Linked DNA regions of Homo sapiens: all the other regions are linked to region 1. Evidence: promoter capture Hi-C in human tissues and cell types (Jung and others, 2019). All regions are on one chromosome and are shown on one strand. The core of a region is centred on a gene start or on the middle of the fragment in contact, and the rest is flanking DNA. Distances in the headings are between cores, read along the strand shown.

What was found. The method cuts DNA at HindIII sites, captures the fragments that hold promoters and counts their contacts. A contact is called where the count stands out against the background at its distance.
Region 2: a fragment that was not itself captured here is called in contact with the fragment with the promoter of PLGRKT in region 1 in 2 of the 25 tissues and cell types used here (lymphoblastoid cells and stomach).
Region 3: a contact is called between a fragment that was not itself captured here and the fragment with the promoter of PLGRKT in region 1, in 1 of the 25 tissues and cell types used here (lymphoblastoid cells).
Region 4: a contact is called between a fragment that was not itself captured here and the fragment with the promoter of PLGRKT in region 1, in 1 of the 25 tissues and cell types used here (lymphoblastoid cells).

The regions. Positions count from the first base shown.
Region 1 is chr9:5,435,098-5,441,269 of GRCh38, forward strand. PLGRKT (plasminogen receptor with a C-terminal lysine) reads right to left here and starts at 2,828. Exons shown (of 6, transcript NM_018465.4): 1 at 2,692-2,828; 2 at 1,472-1,597. RefSeq lists enhancers at 2,130-3,329, 2,385-2,474, 4,035-4,194. The HindIII fragment of the contact is 22,053 bases long and covers 1-6,172 here.
Region 2 is chr9:4,549,635-4,555,806 of GRCh38, forward strand. The region is part of intron 2 of SLC1A1 (solute carrier family 1 member 1); the gene reads left to right. Among named protein-coding and RNA genes, the nearest start is that of SLC1A1, 62 kb to the left of the region's middle. The HindIII fragment of the contact is 4,720 bases long and covers 1-4,554 here.
Region 3 is chr9:4,615,294-4,621,465 of GRCh38, forward strand. SPATA6L (spermatogenesis associated 6 like) reads right to left here. Exons shown (of 12, transcript NM_001353486.2): 8 at 3,571-3,605; 9 at 2,630-2,817. Among named protein-coding and RNA genes, the nearest start is that of PLPP6, 44 kb to the right of the region's middle. The HindIII fragment of the contact is 3,178 bases long and covers 1,612-4,789 here.
Region 4 is chr9:4,867,714-4,873,885 of GRCh38, forward strand. No RefSeq gene overlaps it. Among named protein-coding and RNA genes, the nearest start is that of MIR101-2, 21 kb to the left of the region's middle. The HindIII fragment of the contact is 7,452 bases long and covers 1-6,172 here.

The sequences.
Region 1 (6,172 bases), core at 1,578-4,077:
TTAAACAGATGCTTGAAGACAGCATGCTCGTTAAGAGTCACCACCACTCCCTAATCTCAAGTACCCAGGGACACAAACAGGGCCAAAGGCCGCAGGGACCTCTGCCTAGGAAAACCAGAGACCTTTGTTCTTGTGTTTATCTGCTGACCTTCTCTCCACTATTATCCTATGACCCTGCCACATCCCCCTCTCTAAGAAACACCCAAGAATGATCAATAAATACTAAAAAAAAAAAAAAAAAGAAGAAGATTGAGCTGTCTCAAGGTCAGTAGACCAGTTATTCTTCCTGTCATCCCACCACAATCCCTGTCCCTCTCCTACATGCCCCTTATTTCCATCCACCCACTGCTAACTGCCTTAGCCATCCTCCTCCAGCTTCACTCTCATTCTCTCCAAGATAGCATGTACTAAAGTTCTCAAAAATGGAAAAACATACAGATACTTGAATGTCCTGGAAAATGTACTTTTTAGATGAATGCACAGTAGTGTCTATCTTATGTAAGTTTTTAAGTGGGCTGTCAACTCTACAAGGGACAGAACTCCAATTTTTATTCTTAATCCAACTGGGTGGGTACAGAAGACCTTGAGTTAGTTGGTTGCATTTCAGAATACTGCAAAACTCAGGGGAAAGTTACAACTGCTCTACCCTTCTCAACAATGTTGCTGATACCTTTTCTCTTTAATAGGCTGTTGAGTAGGGTTGTGAACCTCAGGTAAGAATGGCCAGTCTTAATTCATTACAGCCAGGATTCCCAAGTATTCTGTGGGAAGCCCAGCTAATGGGGTTCCAGGTGAGTGGGAGCTGCAAGCAAGACTTCAGTGACTTCCTTGTATTCTGATCAAGGATACACCTGGAGTTTCAGGGCTCTGTGCCAGAGTCAGCTTCAAAGCTGAGCACAGGATACCAAACCACTTACCAGGATGAAGAGGCACAATGCTGAAAAGGCCTGAGGTGGTGAGATTTCCCTCCCCTTCTGCCACTGTGCCACTCGAGCACCCTGTGACCAGAGTTAGAGGCCACTCACTGACAGCAGGGTGATTTGGCAGTTCTTTCCTTTCTCCAAACCCTAACAGTCCCATGCGACTCATCTCTAACAGCAGACCAGAACCTGCCTGAGGTTAGGAGCGAGATATTATCCATCTTGATAGTCTCCATGGTGTCTACTTCCCCTAAATATTTGCACAAAGCATGAGAGATACAAGAAAAACTGTGGCTCAGGCCACTTGCCATTACTTATTTTTCTTCTGAACATAGGAGTGGATGACTAAATTTTTACACCTGCTGCAAACATTTATAAAGAAAACAACTGTACTCTAGTACTATTCCTCCACATACCCTGTATATCACAGAGCTGTGTGCTTTCAAGTGCTCCTGTTTGTAAGGGGTTAGGATCTCCCCTGAAAAGAGAGAGTCCTCATGTCAATCATCTGGGAAAGAAACACTGTCTGGGAAGTTAGTATTTAGATTTACCTCTTTCTGGGCCTTGCTCTCCTGGGTCTGGACTTGTAGTCTGAATGTGTTAGAGGACGCTCCCAGGTGGAAGGGTTAAAGGTGGAAGCCAAGCAGGAAGAAGAGCTTCCTTATGGGAAACCACACCTGAGAATAAATAAATGCATCACACCTTGTAAATTTCACCCTGGAGTTCAGTATTTTCAACATTCTTTCCTTTCCCAACTTCCCCATTCCTGGCAAAGTCATTTCCCAAAGTCTGGGAATATTCCGTAGGGTGTCCAGAACACTTTCAGCTATCTCCTCTTGCTCACAAAATATGTATCAGAAAATAAGCAAAATTGACCTTGCAATAGGGATAACTTTGATTTCACTCACTTGTATAAGTTAAGTCTTTTAAAAATTCTAACACTTTTCACCAGGGGTAAAAAAAAATGTCTTGCTACTTATACAATTTTAAACATCACTGTGTCTCAGAGTGATGTTTTGCAGAGAATGCTGATTTCAATCCCTCTGTCTTCATTTTCCCTTTGATTCCTTCTGAGATCTTGGAAGGGGTCTTTAATGCTTCAGCCCTGCCTCAGGTGAGCTATAGATTACTATGGGAAGGTGTATTTCTGGGGAGGAGAAGTGGTGCCTGCAAGTTCCAGACAACCTTTCTTCCGGTCACCCGTGAGTACCTAGATTTGATTTTACTTGGGGGGACATAAAAAATTAATTGCATGAATTCTGTCATCGGGATTACCACGCTGACTTATTTCCCGATCAGATGACACATTGCCTGAATGTATGACTGATCGTCTCACCACAGTCATTTTCAATATTTGCATCCCATTGAAATTAAGCCACATCCCCTTGCAAATTCCAGCCCAGAGCCCACAGCTTCCGGAGGTTTTCTGTAATTAACACCGCCCTTGCTCCCTGAGGCCAGTTACTGTAATTTAGGTATTCCCCGCAATAGTGTGCTGATTTCTGTTGAGAGCACTGTGCCTGTTTTTCTCAACTCTATTTTAAAGCTACGGAGAGATCCGGAGTCCACGCCAGGCGACAAGAACGCGCTCTAATGGAACGAAGTTGGCAATACCTATCAGCACCAGGGGCAGTGCGAGAGCCAAGAGCCGGCGCTCACGAGGAGCGGGCGCCCAGCGCTGCCTGGCAAGCCCGGAGCCCAGGAGATCGCGCTGACTGACATGGCCGGGCTGACCCTTCTCCCCACCCGCCTGCGGCCGGTGTTCACTCACTGGGCGGCGCTGGTGCCGGGACCAGGCGACCGGTACGCAAACCTCCAGGCCCGGGCTCCTTTCGCCCGCTGCAGGGACCGGGCCTCGCTCCGCCCAGCGTCGGGATTGGCGCCCAGACACAGTAGATGACGCACCTCAGCCAATTCGCGCAGCCCTCAGCTTCTTTAAAGAGCCGGCACTTCCGCCAGAAGCCGGGTGTGTCCTTCCGGGCCAGGCTCAGTGTTACCAGAGGTGGGAGGGGAAGGTCAAAAGAGGCAAATTCAAAGCCGCGGCGACTCAGCTGCCAGATTTTTGAGATGAGGCAGAGGAAGCGGAGTGGAATTCTCAATTAAAGGCCTCTGTCCCCTCATCTGTTAAATTGGCACTATTAAAAAGTCATAAAGATAAGACAGAAACGAGAAAGAAGAGAATTGACTGAAATTACCCATTCTTTTTTGAACAGAGCCGTCTTTCTCCCCTGCTGCTCAGAGAGATGTCGGTCTCGCCTCAACCTCACCAGCAATTTCTATCTTGAATAAGCCACGTCTCTCTCCCAGCCTGAGAGAATGCTTGAATTGTTGGCACTCTGTTCTTTGCTACCAAATGGCTTGGAAAAATAGCATGAACGTCACCAGTCTCTGGCCTTCAGGAAAGTCCCTGCTAACCACCACAGCGGTGGAGAAGGCGTCTAACTTTCTCCAGGCTCAGCGTGTGAGTGCACACCGCCCTGACCTCCTGGGCGCGTCTTGATGCTCTCAACAGCAGCCCTCAGGATTCTGGACTGTGGGTCCCACATTCCAGATACCATTTGTGGAATGGCTGGATGAGAAAATTGCAACAGCACCCTCATTTCCAGTTAAGGGAATGGGCGGGTTACCAGGAGGTTTGACACTCTTGAAGGGAGGTTAACAACTGATGCAAGAAGTAAGGAATCGTGTTTGAGTGCACAGACTCTAGCATAAACACACCTACCTTCAATTTCTAGCTCTGTCACTGTCACTCTGAATTTATCACCTCTGCAACAGGACTAAAGCCATCTAATTTATTGGATTGTGAGGACTAAAAGATAATATATGTGGGCATTTAGCACAGTGTCGGGCACATAGTTCGCCTTCCGTAACCAGTAGTAACCAGTAACAGCGGGGAGCTGTTAGTAACTATAGGGCTGAGGGGTGGGGGAAGGAAGCAGTTACTAAAACCAGGCGAGAGCGAGAGCGGTAGCTGTGGCTGTACGAGAGAGTAACCAACTGGAACCGTGTCGTTCAGTAGAGGAAAGCAAGCAATGCCAACTTTTCACCAAGTAAGGTGAGATTCTATAGTTGTAGCCAGTGCTGAGACGTCAGCCCAAAGCAGGGACAGAGTGGAGAAGACCCACCTCTCTGTTCTCCCAGCTCTGATATCCAGCTGGGGTCTTCCGCTGGCTGGATCCACCAGGAAGCCAGAAGACAGTGGAGCTAGGTCTGTGTAGTCTGTAGAGGTCAGCCTACTAGGCACAATGCCTGGAGGGAGAAATAGAAAATATCCAGCACACCATTTCTTTTTTTTGTTTGTTTTTACACTTTAAGCTCTAGGGTACATGTGCACAACGTGCAGGTTTGTTACCTATGTATACATGTGCCGTGTTGGTGTGTTGCACCCATTAAGTTGTCATTTACATTAGGTGTATCTCCTAATGCTATCCCTCCCCCCTCCCCCCACCCCACAACAGGCCCCGGTGTGTGATGTCCCCCTTCCTGTGTCCAAGTGTTCTCATTGTTCAATTCCCACCTATGAGTGAGAACATGCGGTGTTTGGTTTTTTGTCCTTGCGATAGTTTGCTGAGAATGATGGTTTCCAGCTTCATCCACGTCCCTACAAAGGACATGAACTCATCATTTTTTATGGCTGCATAGTATTCCAGCACACCATTTCTACAACCTTGGGTTTATTGTGTTTGGAAGCCTAGATCCAAAGGAAGGAATGCTGCCACTAGAAGACCCCGTCACTGAATTGAATTGAATTTCAATTCATTGATTCGAAAGCTGAAACTGCCCTCTGGTCACTTTGATTCCTCACAGTGACAGAATGGTATGATTCATCCCAAATACCAAAAGGAAATTGGGTTACATCTATATATTGAGGGCAAGAAGAACTATGCATGACACCTGGAGATTCACTGGGCACTTCTTAATACTGCCGTGTGCCATAATAATGATTATCAGATAACTGAAGTAATGCAGAAATTTCAGATCATGAAGAAATTAAAGTGTTGAAGCATACCAGATAAAAAAATCCTGATCTACCTAGGTGTTGGCATAGGGCAGGGGAAACATACATAAGTAAATGAGTAGGAAGCTATGATTATTAATTTTAGCCTTGCAACAAGCTCTAGAGGCAGGAATTATAGTAGCTCTCCATTTAAAATGTTAATTACTTCTTCCCTGACTCTCTTTTCCTATTACCCTGCATAAAGAGTAGTGGTGGAGATAAATATTACAATTTAGTTTCTGGGTGAGAATGTGCCTGAACTGACATCCCCTCAAGGCAATATGGCAGCTGATGAGGCTTGTTAAGGAAAATCAAAGCTGGACAATAGCTGTAGCAGTAAAAATAGATTTTTATTCAGCAACTTTTGAAATAGGGGGAAAGAGACCTTGGTAAAGAACTGGGCTCAATTCTGAATACAGTAAGGATAAGTGGGGATTTATAGCCGAGGAGCAGGTTGTGTGGATGGGGGTGGGGTCCGTGGATGGAAAATTACTAAGAAGAGACAGCAAGGGTAGGGGAAATCCTTGCTAAACTGACCTAACAGGATTCTTGCTAAAGGTAGGCCAGGGTAAGCAGACATCACCTGGGGGCTGGTGGGGGTAAGGAATTTGATCAGATATTGAGAGTGGTCAAACATTCAGGGTGGGAAGATCCTCTCTAAACTGACTTAGCAGGATTCTTGCCAACACTGATTCTGCAAGGATGAACACTGCAGCCCAAGGTCAATATCTAATCAAGGAGATGGCTTAGAGGAGCCTGACTAAAGTTTGGTCGAGGAGAAATCTTGTCAGACTCTGTCATTCTCATATGTAAGGGATGAGCTGCTCTTCATCTGAGCAAAGGAAAAGAATAAATTCTGGGTGACAAAACAATTAGACTGTCTAGGTTTTCTGTTTGCCTTCCATCATATTCATTCTCCTCACTTCCCTGCCCTGTTCTATACCCCAAAGCTGACCTCTTTGGACGGCACCACCTGGGCTCTCCTCAGCTGGTTTCCATTTGAGTTTGGACAGCGGGAGGCATTCAGGGAGATGGGAGGCAGGAGGAAAAAGACATCAGGGTATATTTTCTCTGTTCTTTCTCTGTTTGGGGCTGAGTATCTGGTGGTGGTTGTGTTTCTCCACAATTGCAGCTCTTGGCAAGCAGTCCCTTCTCCATGGCTCCAGCTCCATGGGCTCTGGAAACACTTTTCTCCTTTGCTATGTAGCCTAGAGAGAGCGCAGTCTTCCTGCTGTTGCTAGACTCTGGATGACTC
Region 2 (6,172 bases), core at 945-3,444, 890 kb before region 1:
ACAGGCCATCCTGTCCTGACCTGGAGTGACCTCTTCCTGGGATGCTTGCCATTGTGGAATATCCACTTCAGAGAAAACCCCCCTCACGGCCACAGGGGGATAGCCTTTCCTCGTGGACCCCATCAGGAGCCTTCCATAGACTCCATACCATAGTACCTGCTGGGTTATTGCAACCACCCTGCTTGTAGAACCTGGGAGTCTGTCCAGGTCAGGCTGGGCCAAGTCCATGCCAGTTCCTGTGCACATTTCTTCCTCCAGAGCAAGGAGTTGCTCATTCCTAACCCTTCCTGTGATGTCGCAGCTCTGGATTTCCTAAAAACGCCTGCTCAAACAAGGGCACACACAGCTCCTCAAGAAACAGCACCAGTTTGCAGCTCAGTGGATGTCAAGCCAAGCAGATATCAAGCCAAGAAAACTCCCTCCTTTCCCTCCTCTCTCCCCCAGGCCACTGAGTGTGAGTCCTAGTACTGATTCTGCTTCCTGGACAAGTCACATTATTAAACACTAGACGTCAGGAGAAAATATTTGCGTTTTGTTTATCAATGACTTTCAGTTTCCACCAGACACTGGTTGGGTGACTGGATTTACAATTGAGGATCTTCTCCAAAGATAAATTTAACACTCTACCCTTGGAAGATTTAAAAAACAAAAAATGCTCCAGACTTTTAGATGATTGTTACTCCAGCTTTCATGTTAGGATTTCAAAATTTTTAGGGCTTGACCTCAACCATAGGATCAGAGGTTTTCTACTACTTTTTGTTGGGAAAGGGTGGGAAGACAGGGTCTCATTCTATGGCCCAAGCTGGAATGCAGTGGTACCAGTATAGCTCACTGTAGTCTTGAACTCCTGGACTCAAGCCATCCTTCCACCTAAGCCTTCCTAGTGGCTGGGACTACGGGTGGCCCACACCACCATGCCTGGCTAATTCTTACTTTTGTCGCGATAGGGTCTTGATATATTGCCAGGGCTGGTCTCAAACTCCTGGCCTCAAGTGAGCCTCCCACCTTGGCTTCCCAAACTGCTGTGATTACAGGAATGAGCCACCACACCTGCCCTACTTTTTAACCAAGTAAAAAAGTTTAAAGCCTTATAAAACCTTAGGTATATTCAGTATTTATTAAACAACAGCCAGATGTAGAATGCATATGTGAGTTGGTTGCCTTTCAAGCAAGGATTTTTCTATGAAGGGCCCAATAGTAAATATTCTAGGTTTTACAGGTCCTGTGTATTTTGCCCAACTACCCAACTCTGTTTGTCATGGGAAAGCAGCCACAGACCGTATGTAAATGATTGAGGGTGACTGTGTGCCAATGAAACATTCATTTACAAAAACAGGAGGCCAGCCAGGAGCTGACCCCTGCCCAGCTAGACTCTGACACTCCAGATGCAATCTAGTTGAGGTTGAATCCAGGTAACAAAATAAACTACCACATCAGGCAAGGAGTATGAATGCACTGAAGAGACTGAAGAATAGAGGGTGAGCAGAATAAAGTGCAGTTGGTGATAGTTTTAGAGCACCTTATTTGTAAACTCAGGCTTTACAGCAGATGACACACTTAAATCTTTGGGGCTGAGGAAGGCTTTTTTTTAAAGGCTATGTATTCATTTACTCAGAGGCAGCTGTGTATCTGGAAACAATCCCACATCCTCCTATGAAAAGAACCATGCCACGTGCCTCCCCGAGACAAGGTTCAGTTTTATTCAGCTAACATTTGTTAACTCCAGCTGCATGAAAACAGACTAACAGAAAACCAGGTATAAGAGGGTGAGGCCCTACCACTCACATGGTCATGGAGCTGAGGTCATCTGATAGTCAGGTCCAGGAGTCCCTCGTTAGCAAGAATTGCAAGACTTGAAGACGCATATCACTTTGTTGTACAACTTGCTATTAAATGTAAGCTACTGTTCATAAACATAGGTGGCTAAGAGCATTTAATGTCAATTTTAGCTACGAGGGAGGAGTATGCATTCTTTTCTTGAAACATTGGTGGTCCATTATACAGTTTAGTTTCTATGAAAATTGCCATTCAAGGTGGTTTATAAACTTAAAACTCCAGGCAGGAAGACAAGTTTGTTGCCTAAGACTGTACAGTCTGAGAGTGAACTTCTTGCCTCATTTGCAACATCTGGAACCAGTGGGCTCTTCATGCACTTTAAGTGCTCCTTTCCCTAAGATTATCAAGAAATTTGTGTTGAGTTAGAATACAGCTGTTGAAGCCAAAGGACTTATTGTATCAATTTGATTTCTGAAATGCCTGGCCTCCAAAGACAAAACGACCACATAGTGTATAAGGAAGAGCTCCCATAATGAACATGCCATTTGCAAGTAATAAAATGAATAGTGGCAAGAGATAAATATGCCCTGCTTTAGTCTTTCCTGAGACAGTGAAGCCCAGAGAATCAACCATGCATGAGCCTTCTTTCTGACTAAACAGGTATTAGACTTGTTCATAGCTCTGTTCAGCTGTAAGATAACCTGATTTGATTACTTAAAAAGGGATTCTAAGGACCTTCTATATATTGGAGGCATGGACCTGGAAGACCATTCGTTCATTTATTTATTTATTCATTCTATCTTTAATGAGCCAGGCTCTGCTAGACACACAAGGTGTAAAATTAAGTCTTATCTCAGCAAGAAAGAGTACATTACAATGCTGTGTGATAAGCACTTTCTGGGAATGAGGTCAGTGCAGGGGACATTGGAAGGAGCCATTTTGAAGGAAGCATAGAAATCAAGTGAAAGGAAGAGGGTGGGTATTCCAGGCAAGAGAAAATAGCATCTTTGTCCTCCCAAAATAGCATCTTGGGAGGACAGTGAGACTTGAAGTGCGATGCTGGAAACGTGGGCAAGAGGAATGGGATGGAAAGGGGGAGCACAAGGGTTTACTGGCCTCGTGTGCCTTGCCAAGGGGACTGGACTTGAGCCTGCAGGCGAGGGAAGCAATTCTAGCAGTGACTCCCACCTGTGCCATTCTCTACAGAGGGACACCTGAATAAGTATCCATCCTAGAGGGGCAAGAGAGTCCAGTGGTTAAGAGTACAGACAGGAGCCACACTGCCTGGGTTTGAATCCTGGTTCTGCCATGGATTAGCTGTGAAACCTTGGATTTTACTTAACTTGTCCTCAGCTTTAAAATATGGATAATAATAATGTTTCATAGAACATCTAGAATGCCATACAATTTTTTTACTTACTCTTTTTTGTCTGAGACCTTCAGAAGTTCCTATAAAGTACCTGAACTGGCAGCAGAATCTACAGGGCCAATATCAGAATTGAGCTACGCAGATATGAACACACTGAATGCATTCATTCTGGAAATGAGAACAATATAAAAAGACTTGCTCTGCCATCAGTTTGTAAAGTTCACCAGCATGTAAGAAGCTTTTGCCTAGAAGTCCGAGATACCAATTTTATGGATAAAGAGAAGCAAAGAGACAGCTCAGTCATATTTAGGTTGTGGCAAAAACCCAGAAAAGTCTCACTGAGCCATTAGCTAGCTGCTGCTGTCAGAGCATTCATATGGACTTTGGAAAAGAACAGTTGAGTTCCTCAGATTCTTTGGGGTATATTTAATGCTTTTACTGGACAATAAGTTCAGGGAGTCAAAAAGTTCATGGAGTCTTCTGAAAAACTGGTCCTAACTACAAATACCACCGTGTTCCATAGTAATGAAAAAAATGTTAAAACAGCTCCTGGACTGCTGAAACCAGGACACAGCCCACCGCTTCTTTTTTTTTTTTTTTTTTTTTGACAGAGTCTCACTGTGTTGCCCAGGCTGGAGTGCAGTGGTGCGATCTCAGCTCACTTGCAACCTCCACCTCCTGGGTTCAAGCGATTCTCCTGCCTCAGCCTCCCAAGTAGCTGGGACTATAGGTGTGTGCCACCACCACCGGCTAATTTTTGTATTTTTAGTAGAGATGAGGTTACACCATGTTGGCCAGGCTGGTCTTGAACTCCTGACCTCAAGTGATCCACTTGCCTCAGCCTCCCAAAGTGCTGGGATTACAGGCATGAACCACTGCACCTGGAGAGCCCACTGCTTCTTGATGCATGTTTTGAACTTCAAATGTGGACCAGCTGACAGAGGCTTCAAGGGGACCTTTAGCTGATTCTGCTCAAGGACCAGTTTATTTTGTTAACATCACCAAATAGCCTAGAGTGGTGATATTACCTATTTTAAGAGAGTTCTTCATGTCTCTAAGAAAAGTAGATGTCATAGGTGATGCATGCACAGAAAGATTTTGCATGCTCCTCTTTGCCTCTTCCTTTCCCTTTGAACATCCAGGGAGTACTAATCAAGGCTGCAGAGATTTCCCTATGCCCTGGATTAACAAAGTAAGATCATATCCTGCCTTGTTTTCTCTGGGGAATAAAAGAAACATTTTGGAATTTAAAAATCATGAACCTGTTTATTTAATCCTCATAGCAGCCCTATGAAGTCATCAAGTAGGTGGGACCTTAACTCCATCTTTAGAGATAAGGAAACAGGAGGTTGAAGACAGATTAAGCCACTTTTTCAAGATCACACAGATCATAAGGGCAGCAGCTGGAACTGGCAAGTTTTGTTCTGGCAACACTCTGCTGCCAAGGGGCCAGAGCCTGGGAGAGGGATCCAGGGCAGTCAGCCATACTTAAATACCTGTTAGTCATTCAATCAGCATGTTTACTGAGCATCTCCTATGTGCTGGGCACTGAGTATACATTCGTGAACAAGCAGATAGCTAGGTCTCCTGCCTTCATGGAGCTTAAAACCTAGCAAGAAAGAGATATAAAATAATGAACCAATGATAAAAATTGTTGAGATATGATATGCACAGGATGCCAAGCAAGGAAATCAGGACACCCTGGTTTAGGGTGGATAATCAGGGAAGGATTCTGAGGAAAGGACTTAAAAGCCAAATGAAGAGTGAGGAAGAGCACTCCAGGCAGAGGGAAGAGCCTGTGCAAAGGCCTTGGGGTGGGAAGGAGCTTGGTCTGTTCCAGAAGAGGCTGGAGGAGGGGATGAGACAGGAAGATGGCACAAAGAGGGGCTGGAGAGGCAGGCAGGTGCCTCCCCTGCAAGGCCTGTTGGCCAAGGTAAGGATTTTTTCTTTTTATCTTCAGTGCCATTGAAGGGTTATCCTGATGTATAAAATCACCTGATTTATGTTTTTAAAGGATCTCTTTAGTGACCGTGTAATGAAGGAATGAATGAGGGAGGGAATGAATGAATCAGTTAATGCTTGTTGAATACCTTCCATCTGCTCAGTGATGCACATCATCTTTATCATTTATTCAGTAATCATGCAGGCTATTTACTAAGAACACACTGTGTTCTGGGCACTGTACTAGGCCTGTTATAGACATTATTTCTAATCCTCACAACAGCTACGCAAGCTGAGGTTGTTCACTTTGTTCCTCACAATTAACCTAAAGGCGATAGAGGCATTTCAGATCCTCCAATTTATAGATGGAGAAGCTGAGTCTGGGAGGAGGCTGGGATTTGAGCCCAGTCTGTCCCACCAAAGCCCATGCCTTCTCTCTGCACAGGTGGCCTCTCTGCCGGTGACAGAGACAGGAGTCATCCACATGGCGAGTTTTAACTCCTATGCAACAATGAGTTTCTTGGATGTGGTGTCCACTTATAATGGCATAACACCACCAAATGTCAGACCTAAAAGAACTTCCAATAAGGGGTTGAATTTTGATACCTTAACAGCAATGTGGAGAGATTGTCACGAAAGCTTTGTTCTCAGTGGGTGGTTGCTTAATCAGAGAGCTCTAGGAGGAGTCTTTTGCCCTCAGATGTTTATTTTTAAAACATGCTATTGTTTAGCCAGGCAACTGCTTCCTTTGGAGTGTTTTTGTAAAAAGTTCAGATGATTACTGCTTTGGCTGGGAGCCAACACCCTTGCTCATCAGAGCCTTCTCCTGAGGTGAAAAAAGCAAATAAATGCCTTTACCTAAAATAAAGAGCTAGCAGGTGCCCCTGACTTCCAAGGACAACCGGGGATTTTATCCCTGTTTCTAGGCCACAGCCGAGCCTCAAAACTGTCCCAGGTTCTAATGGATAACCCTGGGTTCACAGGGAACTGGAATCGTGCTCTTCTTTTTCTGCCCAATTCAGGTGCCACCTGTTCCATCAAGCCTCTCCTGCTCATCTCAATCTGGTGACAGTTCAGGCTCCTCTG
Region 3 (6,172 bases), core at 1,951-4,450, 820 kb before region 1:
TAGGTTGCAAGTTTTCAGAGATCAGGAGAAATGTCTTAAATGTTAGTGTTCCCATTGCTGGCCTAGCAGATTGAGTATCATTCCTGCTTTCCGTCTTAACCACAGATTTAACGTGCTCCCCGCCCACATACTCAATTCCAATCCCAGTTGATTTTGACTCAGTAAACATGAGGCAATTCTTCCGTTGGCCAGAGTTGAGAATTGCTGGCCTGCTGCATAAAGACACTCAGGAAAGGCTGGCTGAATGAATGCATAAACCATCTAACACATATTTAAAGAGAAAAGAGGACTTCTCAGGTCTCTCTCCTGATGTAACTGATTTCCTCTCACTCTGTCTCTCCCCTGCATTTGGATTGTACTTCTGTTAGGTACCTACCACAATCTATCTCATATTCAGTGACAAGGGGGTATGTCTGCCTTCCTGTCTAGTATGTGAGCCAGTGGAAAGCAGAGACATGTCATGATGGTGTCCATTGCCCCCAACAGTTGCCCAATAACAGCATGCTCAATACAGTCTCTCAGAAAAGCTTGCTGTACTGCTTTTAAGGAGTTTGGGAGGTGTTATAGATACCAGGCACAGAGACAAAAACCACGGGTTTTCCCCAGTTCTGGTGGCTGAGAAGCACTTTGTGGCTGTATGCAGATGGATCTTTGATCATCAAACCCATTTTAAAGATGAGGAAACTGAGGTTTAAAAGGTTGAAGCCAGGCACGGTGGCTCATGCCTGTACCCAGCACTTTGGGAGGCCAAGACAATTGCTTGAGCCCAGGAGTTTGAGAAGAGCCTGGGCAACACAGTGAGACCCCATCTTTACAAAAATAAAAATATGAAAATTAGCCGGGCATGCCGGTGCGCACCTGCAGTCCCAGTTACTCAGGAGGCTGAGGCAGGAGGATTGCTTGGGTTGGGGAGGTCAAGGCTGCAGTAAGCTGTGATTGTGCCACTGCACTCCAGCCTGGGTGACAAAGCAAGACCCCATCTCGAAAAAAAATAATAATAATTAATTTAAAAAAATAGGTGGAGTAGCTGTGTGAAATCACCCAGCACTTAGAGACACATGAGCGCTAGAGCCCATGTCTCCTGACCACTGTTAATTGAAAGTTCTTTCCGTTCTTCATTTAAAATCAATCCTCTACAAGTCTTTAAATCCAGGATGACCTCCTGTGCTTTGCCAGCCTGCTGAATTCCAGGCTGGTGGCAAAAGCATAAGACAGGAGGGGACAGAGGCCAGGCATAGAGAGGTGTAAGTGTGTCTCTGACCACTTGTCTCTGTGTGCCAGAGCCAGTTTTTTGTTTGTTTGTTTGTTTTAAACGGAATTGCGCTCTTGTTGCCCAGGCTGGAATGCAATGGCACGATCTCAGCTCACCCCAACCTCCGCCTCCCGGGTTCAAGCAATTCTCCTGCCTCAGCCTCCCGAGTAGCTGGGATTACAGGCATGCGCCACTATGCCCGGCTAATTTTGTATTTTTAGTAGAGACAGGGTTTCTCCATGTTGGTCAGGCTGGTCTCAAACTCCAGACCTCAGGTGATCCACCCACCTTGGCCTCCCAAACTGCTGGGATTATAGGCATGAGCCACCGTGCCCAGCCGGAGCCAGTTTTTTAAAAATCTATGTTGTATTATTTTCTTCTAATAAAGTAACTAATCAAAAGCTCGTCATACGTTAATGGATTTTATTAAAATATTTGATCTGGCTTCCTCAAATCCATGATTTAACATTTGAATATAGAGTTATTATGTCATTTCTGAAAAACACTAAGAAGGGATTGCCACTTTCTTAGTCTACCTCAAAGTTAATATAATTCCTGTAAAAATTTCAGGGCCACTGTGGTTCTGGGATATATTTACTCTGAGTCCCTTTGAGAGCAATTGCGTTATTTTGGTACGTGGAGTTTGCTTCTTATTCTCGTCACTAATAATGCAGAGAAAAGCAGATTGGCTTATCCTTCATTCAGAACAATGATCTTATAAATATTATTTTCAGTGCCACTTCCCCGAAGTTAAAGTAACCAACTGTCCTGGTTTGCCTAAGATTCAAGGGTTTCCCAGAATGCAGGACTTTCAGGTCTAAAATCAGGCAGACCCAAGCAAACCAGTGGTTACTTACCCTACTAGAGAGTGCTGTTTGGCAAATAAAGGTTTCTGCTTTTGCTCTCTGGCCTGCTCTCCAGACATATGCAAATGTATTTTCATTGTTTGTGAAAATAATGTAAGCAAAGAAATCATGTCTAGAAAAAGAATATATGCCCATATGTTAACATTTGTCTTTGAGTGGTAGGACTATAGGTAATTTTTTTCCACTTTTTTTTCTGTAATTTTCAAACTTTCTGTGGTGAACATTTTTATACTGGTAAAATGAAAAGGTTTAGTTTTTAAATTTATGACAAATAAAAATGGGTAGATAAATAGTACCTATGTCAAAGTTAGTTGTCTATCCCATTTACAGCAAATATTCTGAGATATGCCTCTGACTTTTGGGTAGATTTTAAAAGAAATAATCATTTTTTCATATCAAGGTGTCACCAGCTGAATATTCCTAAGAAAGGAAGCTGGTGAAATGACCCAGCTTTACCCCTGCCAGGCCACAATGCACTCGTCAGGCAAACAGATGGGTGCTTGCCACTGACCTTTCTCTGAGAAGGGGCTGATCCAAGGGGCCAGGAGAGGTGGAATGCTGGTAGGTGGCAAATGAAGCTTTCCCGTGGAAATCAGCATCCCCTTGTTTACTGGATGAAGACTTTCCAAACTGACTTGAATCTAAACATGATGATGAGTCACTCCTTAAAACAATCCGTTCATCTGGCTCTTTGATAACCTGAGTGACAATATGCATTATTTAGTTGTAATTTTGCTTCTGTTTGCTTAATTTAGAGCTGGGGGTGGGGGTTGGACAAGGAAGATAACTCGGGCTAAGATGACAGAATATTTGCCCCAGGGATCTCCTGCAAATAGAAGAGGATCTGGAGAAGAGAAGACTAGTGACAAAATGCTCAGGAGTTCAGACTGATAAAAATAACCAAAAGTCTGTATGTTTGGGATATATTAAAAAACCAAAATAAACTCATGCTCTGAACTTTGATTTCTGAGGACTAGGGATTATTGGTCTGGGAAAAATGTAACTTTAACAAAATATTTAAGCGCTATGGCATAAGAAGCATAGTATATTCCATTTTCTTTGCATAAATCTATTCTCATGTTGTTACATAGAAGTTTGAGCCTTCACTTTGACAAACCAATCAAACTTCAAGAACAAGTGATTTACCACCTCTATGTATAAAATTATTTGATTAGAGAAAAAGCAATGAAAATCACTACCAATAAAGTAGGTATTGGGTCTACATACACCCTCCTTGGTGATTCATCCTACTTATATGAGGGGCACAAACCAACTAACCCCTAAGCAAAGTATAACATGGAGTCTGGGCACATCTTCATACAAACACTAAACTACAGCAATTCCACCTAAGCAGACTAACTAGAAATATCCACCACTGATTGGAAAAAGCACAATAATTGACATAAGATATCTGGAAGTAAATCATTTTACAAATTCTACTTCTAAAATTACCTTTACGTTAGCTGCAAGGCTGTCAAGAGAAGAAGCTAGAAGAAAGAGGAACAGGCATTTCAATGACTCATTATTACCATTTAGCCTTAAAACTGCCATTATATTTATTCTACAGCAGTACAAAAATTTTAGACAATGAATTAATTATTTAAAAACTTAAATGCTCCCTTGTAAGTTACACTATCACTTTTAAGTCTCCCTTGAGCCACTTCAATTCTCCGGGTTGTGGGGGTTTTTTGCTTTGTTTTGTTTTTTGTTTTTGTCTTTTTGAGGTCAACAGTCAGGTTTTCTCTTTTTTTTTTTTTTTTTTTTGAGATGGAGTCTCACACTGTCGCCCAGGCTGGAGTGCAATGGCACAATCTCGGCTCACTGCAATCTCCGCCTCCCAGGTTCAAGAGATTCTCTGCCTCAGCCTCCCGAGTAGCTGGGATTACAGATGCCCGCCACCATGCCCGGCCAATTTTTTGTATTTTTAGTAGAAATGGGGTTTCACTACGTTGGCAAGGCTGGTCTCGAACTCCTGACCTCAGGTGACCCACCCGCCTCAGCCTCCCAAAGTCCTGGGATTACAGGTGTAAGCCTCTGGACGTTTTGTTTTCAATGACAGCACATGTGGAAGGGAGAAGGGTAAAGCAAGTCTAAAGTGAATGAGTAAGTTCAATAACCCTTAAGCAGCCTGAAAAACTCATATTTGAGCAGGCGCCCAGAACCTAAAAGAAAGTACTGTGTGTCTAATATAAAATTTATAAACTCTGTCTCCTCTGACATTTTCTTTGGTTTTCATGGAATCCCATTTATGCAGGAGCTCTTGAATATATTTGTCCAAGGTAGACACAAATGTTAAATTGAGACAACAAATATGTAAAAGCTTGGAGAAATATAGAACATAGCAAAAATGGAAATCACTATCATGACCATAAATGATCATGATAGGCAAGCAGACCTAATGCCGAAGTATGGCAAGGATGACTAGGAAATGAGGTAATAAAGACACAGAGAGAAAGTGAAGACTAGGTTGGATTTTTCCAGGTTGATTAAAAAATGTTTTTAAAATGAATATTTGTAAGGCAATTCTAAGGTCAGCATGGCTTCCCCCAGTGTGACCAGGGCTCAGGCAATGACAAGGGACTTTTTCTGGACTGCTGATCCCCCTCCCCACGTCACCGGTAGATATAAAAAGAGATTTTTAAAGCCAGGCCATTTTCATATCCTTTGGGCATATACATATGTGTGTGCCACCTTGTCCCAGGAGCTCTCTTCTCTCCCACCCCCAGCTGGGCAGGAGTCAGCAATGCTAAGGCCCTTTCAGCTATAGCCACAAACCTGCCCTGTGGCCTCATAACCTCCTTCTCATAACCTCCTTCCCCTGTGGATTCATAACATGTGGTCTCATAACCTCCTTCCTCCTGTGGCCTCATAACCCTGTGGCCTCATAACCTCCTTCCTCCTGTGGCTTCATAAACTCCTTCCTACCGGTTTTGAGCCCTACCTTTCACACGGGGGCCTGCCATCATTCCCTTGCTTCTCAAAGTGCAGTCCATAGACCAGCAGCATTCATATCACCTGGAAGCTTGTTAGAAAAGGAGAATCCTAAGCTCCACCCCAGCCCTACTGAATCAGAATCTGCAGTTTAACAAGAGCCCCAGGTGATTCAACTGCACATTCAGGTTTGAGAAGCACTGCTGTGTTCTACCTTAGGCCTGGATGAATGAGCTGACAGGTGACCTAAGCAAAGGGCTGGCTTGAAAGCTACAGGGATTCCAAGGATCTGAGCCCAGAGGTCTGAATGTCTTCTCTAAATGTAGGTATGCCAAAAACTTGGTGTGTGACCTTTACACACATTGTAATCTCTCTGGAACCTTAGTTCTCCACATGCCAGGATTAAGAAAAGACAAAGGCCGAGACCAGTGTGATGTGTGAGTCCCATCGTAATAGAGCCTGCATTAAACCCAACTTGTCCTCCCCAGGAAAGGACATTTGCTGTTGCCTGATTTCACTGCAGTAGGAAAGACAATGCTGCTTTATAAGCTACACAGGTGATTTTCAACTCAAAGAACTTAAATTAAATGTCAGAGGTGATGAAGCACATTCTGCTTCAAACTCTACTCTGTCCTTGCAGCTGCTGTCAAACAGCTACCACAGTCTAAGAACACTGGCTTAAGTTTCCATAAGAGACTTAAAAGTAGTCCCTTAAAATGTAAACCTTTAAGCCTAAGATAAAGATCTCTATTGTCAGGGATGGCAACAGATAGAAAGTCCAGTACTACCAGCAGGCAAGAGAATGGACCACCACCATTCCTTTCCAGCCTAAGAATTTTGATTAAGTTCAGGAATGACTGATCTTCACCGACATGACCTTCACTACTGGCATGATTCATGGATTTCAGTCAAAAGCCTACAAGGGGTTCCTTAACCCAGTGACTCTCAATGTGTGGTCCAGGGATCTCCCCCAGGGGTACCCAAGACCTTTCAGGAGATCTGCAACGTCAAACTGTTTTCATAATAATACTAAGACATGATTTGACTGTTTCATTCCCATTCTCTCACCACTGCACAATGGAGTTTTCCAAAAGCTACAATGATGTCATGACATCACCATCAC
Region 4 (6,172 bases), core at 2,339-4,838, 570 kb before region 1:
TTATAGAAGAGACAATTGATACGGGATAGGCAGAAGGAGCAGTTGTCCACTGTAGACTACATTGCCTAATTCCTTGAATATTCTCAGAAAGATGCCCCACAATACTGCCTGCCCACCACCATCTTTCACCATCCAGAATCCTCCAGCATTATGGTATAGAATCGAGTAAACAAGGATGAATTCACCTTAACAAATGATGCCCAACAAAGGCAAGATCATTGGACTCAGAAGGCCAAAGTTATCTTGGATGCTTGGCAAAGATTTGTTATATTAGCCAGTGGCATTCTTGGGCTAGAAGGGGGAGCAGTACTCTGGGTGGTAACCCAGAGGGAGGAAAAGTGGCAATGACCAATTCCATGTGTGGGAGCAGCATGGGTGTTGTGGGCCAAGAGGAGGGGCCGGGGCACAGCGTAAAGAAAAATGTCAGTTGATGTTCTTGTTCTCTATCATGGTCCTGCCTTTTCTTTTTTCCTTTTTTTTTTTTTTTTTTTTTGTCCTAAGACAGAGTTTCACCAGAGACAAGCTATAGCACCTGCAGGTGGGTTGAGGTCAAACTGTCCCATGACATATGATACAAGAGTTAAAGAGGCCCTACAGGCATCTCAGTGAGTTCACTGTGTAGACATGTTGCCCAGGCTGGAGTGCAGTGACATGATCTTGGCTCAGTGCAAACTCTGCCTCCCAGGTTCAAGTGATTCTCCTGCCTCAGCCTCCCGAGTAGCTGGGATTATAGGTGCCCACCATGACGCCTGGCTAATTTTTGTATTTTTAGTAGAGATGGGGTTCCATCATGTTGGCCAGGCTGGTCTCGAACTCCTAACCTCAGGTGATCTGCCTGCCTTTCAGCCTCCCAAATTGCTGGTATTACAGGTGTGAGCCACTGCATGGTTCTGCTTTTTCTAACCTCTGGAAAACAGATTCAGGAGCTGGGGAGGAAGACCAGGATTTTTTGCCCATTGCCAAGATCATGAATTGATGGCAACAATGTCAAGAGCTGCCGGCGGAAGAGCAATGAAGACATATCAAACCTATGACTCCTCCAGTGGGCGGGAGTGTGAGAGGTGCTTCTCATTTTCAAATGATTTGCACTATTTTTTTTTTTTGGAGATGGAGTCTCACTCACCCAGGCTGGAGTGCAGTGGCATGATCTCGGCTTACTGCAACCTCTGCCTCCTGGGTTCCAGCAATTCTCTGCTTCAGCCTCCTGAGTAGCTGGGATTACAGGTGCCCGCCACCACACCTGGCTAATGTTTTGTATTTTTAGTAGAGTCGGGGTTTCACCATATAGGCCAGGCTGGTCTTGAACTCCTGATCTTGTGATCCACCCTCCTCTGCCTCCCAAAGTGCTGAGATTACAGGCATGAGCCACTGTGCCCAGCCCGCACTATTTTTTACAGTTATATGTACACACATATATATTTGTATATGTATATATGTTAGTTTATATTAAGAATCCCAGGTAGAACTCCAGCAATTTTCCATCAGCCTCAAGGCAAATAAAGATTGGGAATCCTGGCTAGGTGTGGTGGCTCATGCCTGTAATCCTAGCACTTTGGGAGGCCAAGGCAAGTGGATCACTTGAGGTCAGGAGTTCAAGACTAGCCTGGCCAATATAGTGAAACCCTGTCTCTACTAAAAAGACAAAAGTCAGCCAGGCGTGGTGGCGGGTGCCTGTAATCCCAGGTACTCAGGAGGCTGAAGCAGGAGAGCCACTTGAACCTGGGAGGTGGAGAGGTTACAGTGAGCTGAGATCGTGCCACTGCACTCCGGCCTAGGCAACAGTGAGACTCCGTCTCAAGAAAAAAGATTAGGAATCCTCTTTGTCTCACTCCTCTGCACCCTCAAAAATCAACAACAACCAAAAACTACATATGCAATTTACCTGTGGCAGAGGCCTCAGAAGAGGCCACAAAAGATGCCTCAGGTGACCTGCTGCAATGCTGGGCAAGTGGCTTAGGCCCTTGCACATTACCCATTTTCCAGGGCTGGCTCCAGGCTTCTGAGTCAGAGCACTGTGCTCAGCCTCCAAATTAGGGTCTCTTTAGGGCCAGTGTAGTGCTTCCCAGAGGAGGTTCCATGATACACTAGCATCATGGGGTGCTTTCCCTGAAAAGGGCTTATAGAGGTTTTGAAAATGCAGCAGTCTCCATCACAGTGTACATTAACAGAGCAAACACTACAAGAAGCCTTGCAAGTGAAGCTTTGTTTTACCTGCACTGTTCAAACTCACCTAACCATGGAACTCTCCCTACCCTGGAAAAAGAGAGAGAGAGAAAGAGATTGTTTGCATTATGTAGTGCTCTTATTCTGCAGATCACACTTTGGGTGTTCCTGGTCTGATAGGATTTATTGATGAATACAGAAAATATAAGCTCTTGCATTCTTTTTTTTTTTTTTTTTTTCTGAGACACAGTCTTTCTCTGTCAGGCTGGGGTACAGCGGCGCGACCATAGCTCACTGCAGCGTCAACCTCTCCTAGGCTTAAGAGATCTTCCCACCTCAGCCTCCTGAGTAGTAGCTGGGACCACAGGTGTGTACCACCACACCTGGCTAGTTTTTAAAAATCTTTTGTAGAGATGAGGTCTTGCTCTGTTGCCCAGGCTGGTCTCAAACGCCTGAGCTCAAGTGATCCTCCTGCCTCGGCCTCTCAAAGTGCTGAAATTACAGGTGTAAGCCACGGCGCCCAGCCAGCTCTTGCATTCTTGATTGGGGTATTTGTGAGAAGCCAAGTGGTTGTCAAGAATCTAGGTGGAAAATCCAGACTCATGTCTAACCCTGGCCCCAGCCCTACAGCATTGAACACCCCCGCACATGAGCTTCGGATCAGTGGCCATCAGCCCAACTGACTCTCTGCCATCTTCCCTTATTGTCTGGGCTTCTAGAAATTAGAGGGGCCAGGTATGTGGATAGGGTTGGATTTTGTGGTGTTTATATGATTATTACAATGTCCTCATTTTCTTGAGAGTTACACAGACTGTTGTTCTTTTCCTCTTAGCTCAGAGGCTCAATATACCAGGAAAGCTCACTTTAGGTTCTCAGCAAGAAGTTGGAAGAGGTCAGGGAGAAATCCTTGGGGAGGAGGAACCAAGGAGACATGAAAGGTTTCTTGAAGTCCTATGGTTACTCTAAGGCCAAGCCTGAACCTTGAAACACCTAGATTTTTAGAGGATTCAGGCCAGGACACCACCTGCTATCACTGAGATGCAAAGACATGGTCCTTGAAGCAATGGACCTTGTTGCTCAGAATGGGGAGAGAGCTTGAGCTTTTTAAGTTGGCTTTTGAAAAGATACTCTTGTACTTAAGCCCCTGCTTGACCTGCTTCTCTGTTAATGGGCTCTCCAGAAAAGAGCTTGGCTTATACTCTCTGAGTGTCTTCTTCAAGATGTAGAGTTAATGTCAGTGCTTTTAAAATCTGTTGAACCTGTGTGCCCAGGATAAACTTTTGCACCTCTTGACAATCTGAGTGAGTTCTATTTGTAGTCCTGAGTTTTGTCTTTGGGAGTGCAGAAGGTGAAAGAGACCTTGAATCACCTGGACACCCACCTGAGAAGAAGAGTGAGAAAGGAAGTGGATAACAACCTCAGTTGGAAGTAGTGTGCTCTGAGTACCTTTGTTAACAATGCTAAGAAAACAGCTTTGGCAAAGTAAGGGGTGCTGTAGGGAGAACAGGAGTGGGTTAGCTGCTCCAGTCCGTCGAGGACTGTCCTACTTGTCTGATCTGTTTGCCGGGGATCTGCATGCCCCAAGAGGACTGTTTGAATGCTTAGCACATAATATGCTTTGTACATCTTGTGAGACTATCTTCCCAAATTTTAAGAACCATTGTTATTATGGATAATATACAAATGCATTTTAAAGCAGTATTGAATTCATACTTATTTCATTGTGTACTTTTTGTTTGTTTGAGACAGGGTTGCACTCTGCTGCCCAGGCTGGAGTGCAGTGGCATGATCGCTGCTCACTGCATACTTGGATTCCTGGGCTCAGGCGATCCTCCTGCCTCAGCCTCCCGAGTAGCTAGGACTATAGGCATGTGCCACCATACCTGGCTAATTTTTCAATTTTTTGTAGAGACGGGATCTCGCTATGCTTCCCAGGCTGGTCTTGAATGCCTCACCTCAAGCAGTCCTCCCTCTTCTGCTTCCCAAGGTGATAGGATTACAGGAATGAGCTACCATGCCTGGCCTGTATTTTCTCAATCAACAGATTCTATTGTTCTATTCTACTCTTCTATTCTATTCTATTCTATTCTATTCTATTCTATTCTATTCTATTCTATTCTATTCTATTCTATTCTATTCTATACAGAAAGAAGTCTGTGAAAATTTTAGATGCTGAAAAGAGGTCCTTGTGCTTTCTTGAAAAGTGTTATATTGTAAAATTGCTTGCCCCGCAGTAGTCATCTCTGGTTAGTTGCCTATCTTGGTTATGTAATTATTCTGAAAGGTTCTGGAAAGTTTGAACTTCTTGCCACAAACCTTGACTGTTTGCCTGCTTTGGAGGGTAGGGTTAGAAGAGAGAAGAGGGCTCATCACTCAGAGGGCTGAATTTCCATTTAGCATCACTGATCTCCTGATACTAAAACGTCCAAGCTGAGCCTCCCTGCTTTGATATAAAGTGCTGCCTCCTTCCCTCAGGATGTTTCCTCCACAAAGCAGCTGACTTCCAATGTGGCAAGAGCTCCTATTTTTCTTGACTCACAATTGCCACTGCCTTATGGATTTCAGAACACTTCCATGAACATTGTCCCATTTCATCCTCACAGATACTTCTCAGTTTAGGCTTAGAGAAACTATCAAACTTACTTAAGATCACACAATTAGTGGAGAAATTGCAGCAAGAACACAACACTTTGGGTTTCAGTAGCTCTGAACCATGACATATGAGTGTCTTTATTAGGTCATACCTTAGTGCCCTTTCAAATGGGCATTATTTAAATGTTTGCTCAATATCTGTTTAGAGATGAGAAGATGAACAGCTGTGAAAGAAGGGTAGAAAAGGGAGATGTGGAGGCAGCACCCAATTTTTCATGTTTTCCTCAGAAAGACCAAAGCCCAGCAGCTAACCGTGGATAAATTGATTATCTTTTGTTACTCAAGCATTCCCCTTAGAAATCATATTAGGACTTTTTTTCTTGAATGTAAGTGACTAAAAACAACTCAAAACAGGCTTAAGCAAATGTATTGACTCATTTAAAGGAAAAGTCCAGGGATGTACCTCACTTCAGGTATAAACTGGGTCCAGGGGCTTGAATGATGTCACCAAAACTCATCACTTTTGATCCGTCCTCTAGTAGGGTCACCCCACTGATGGCAGCAAGAAGTCATCAGAAGTTCTTGGCGTGTATCCTATCCTCTCAGCAGCCCCAATAAAAAGAATCTGACAGTTCCCAAAAATGTCCCCAAAGGGTTGAATATCATGGGATTGATTTAGTTATTTGCCCAACTCTAAATCAATCACTATAACCAGTAGTGGTTGGTCAGATTGGCCACATCTGGGTGCATGCCAGCTCCAAGAGCCCAGCGCACTTGGACCTCCCGTACCAAATGAGCTAAGAATAGGAGAGGCGGTCACCAAGGAAAATATGGCTTCTAGTGCCAAAAGACAAAGAAATGGATGCTGGGCAGGCCAAAGCAATGAATTTGTACTGAAGAAATGTTCCTCTAGCCCCGAACACCTGGCAGCTTACCAAAATACTGCTTTAGACAATATTCCAGACACTCCCTCAGCAGAATTCCAGTCAATACAATTTTCTCTATTCCACTGCATTATAGTTTGGTACCCTGGGCAGCTTCTCAGGTAAATCCCCTTTATTCCAACTCTGTCTTCACCAGGTGAGGAAGTTGCAGAGTGGAGGGATTTGGCCCAAGTCACACAGCCAGGATAAGGAGGAATTCAGACCAGATCCTGTTCCCAGACCATTGGCTACTGAAACCAGGAAGCACTGCTGACCCTGACACTTGGGCCAGCCCAGCAGCACAGCCTTGCTTGTCCCATGACCCAGCCAAGTTCTGTTAGGACCCAAGATTGGTGTAGATTATAGCACCAAAAGATCTCCAGGTTCTGGAATTGGTCCATTTTGGCCAGTGCTATGGTCTGAATATTCGTATCCTCCTCAGATTCGTCTAGTGAAATCCTAACCCCCAAGGTGATGGAATTAAGAAGTGTGGC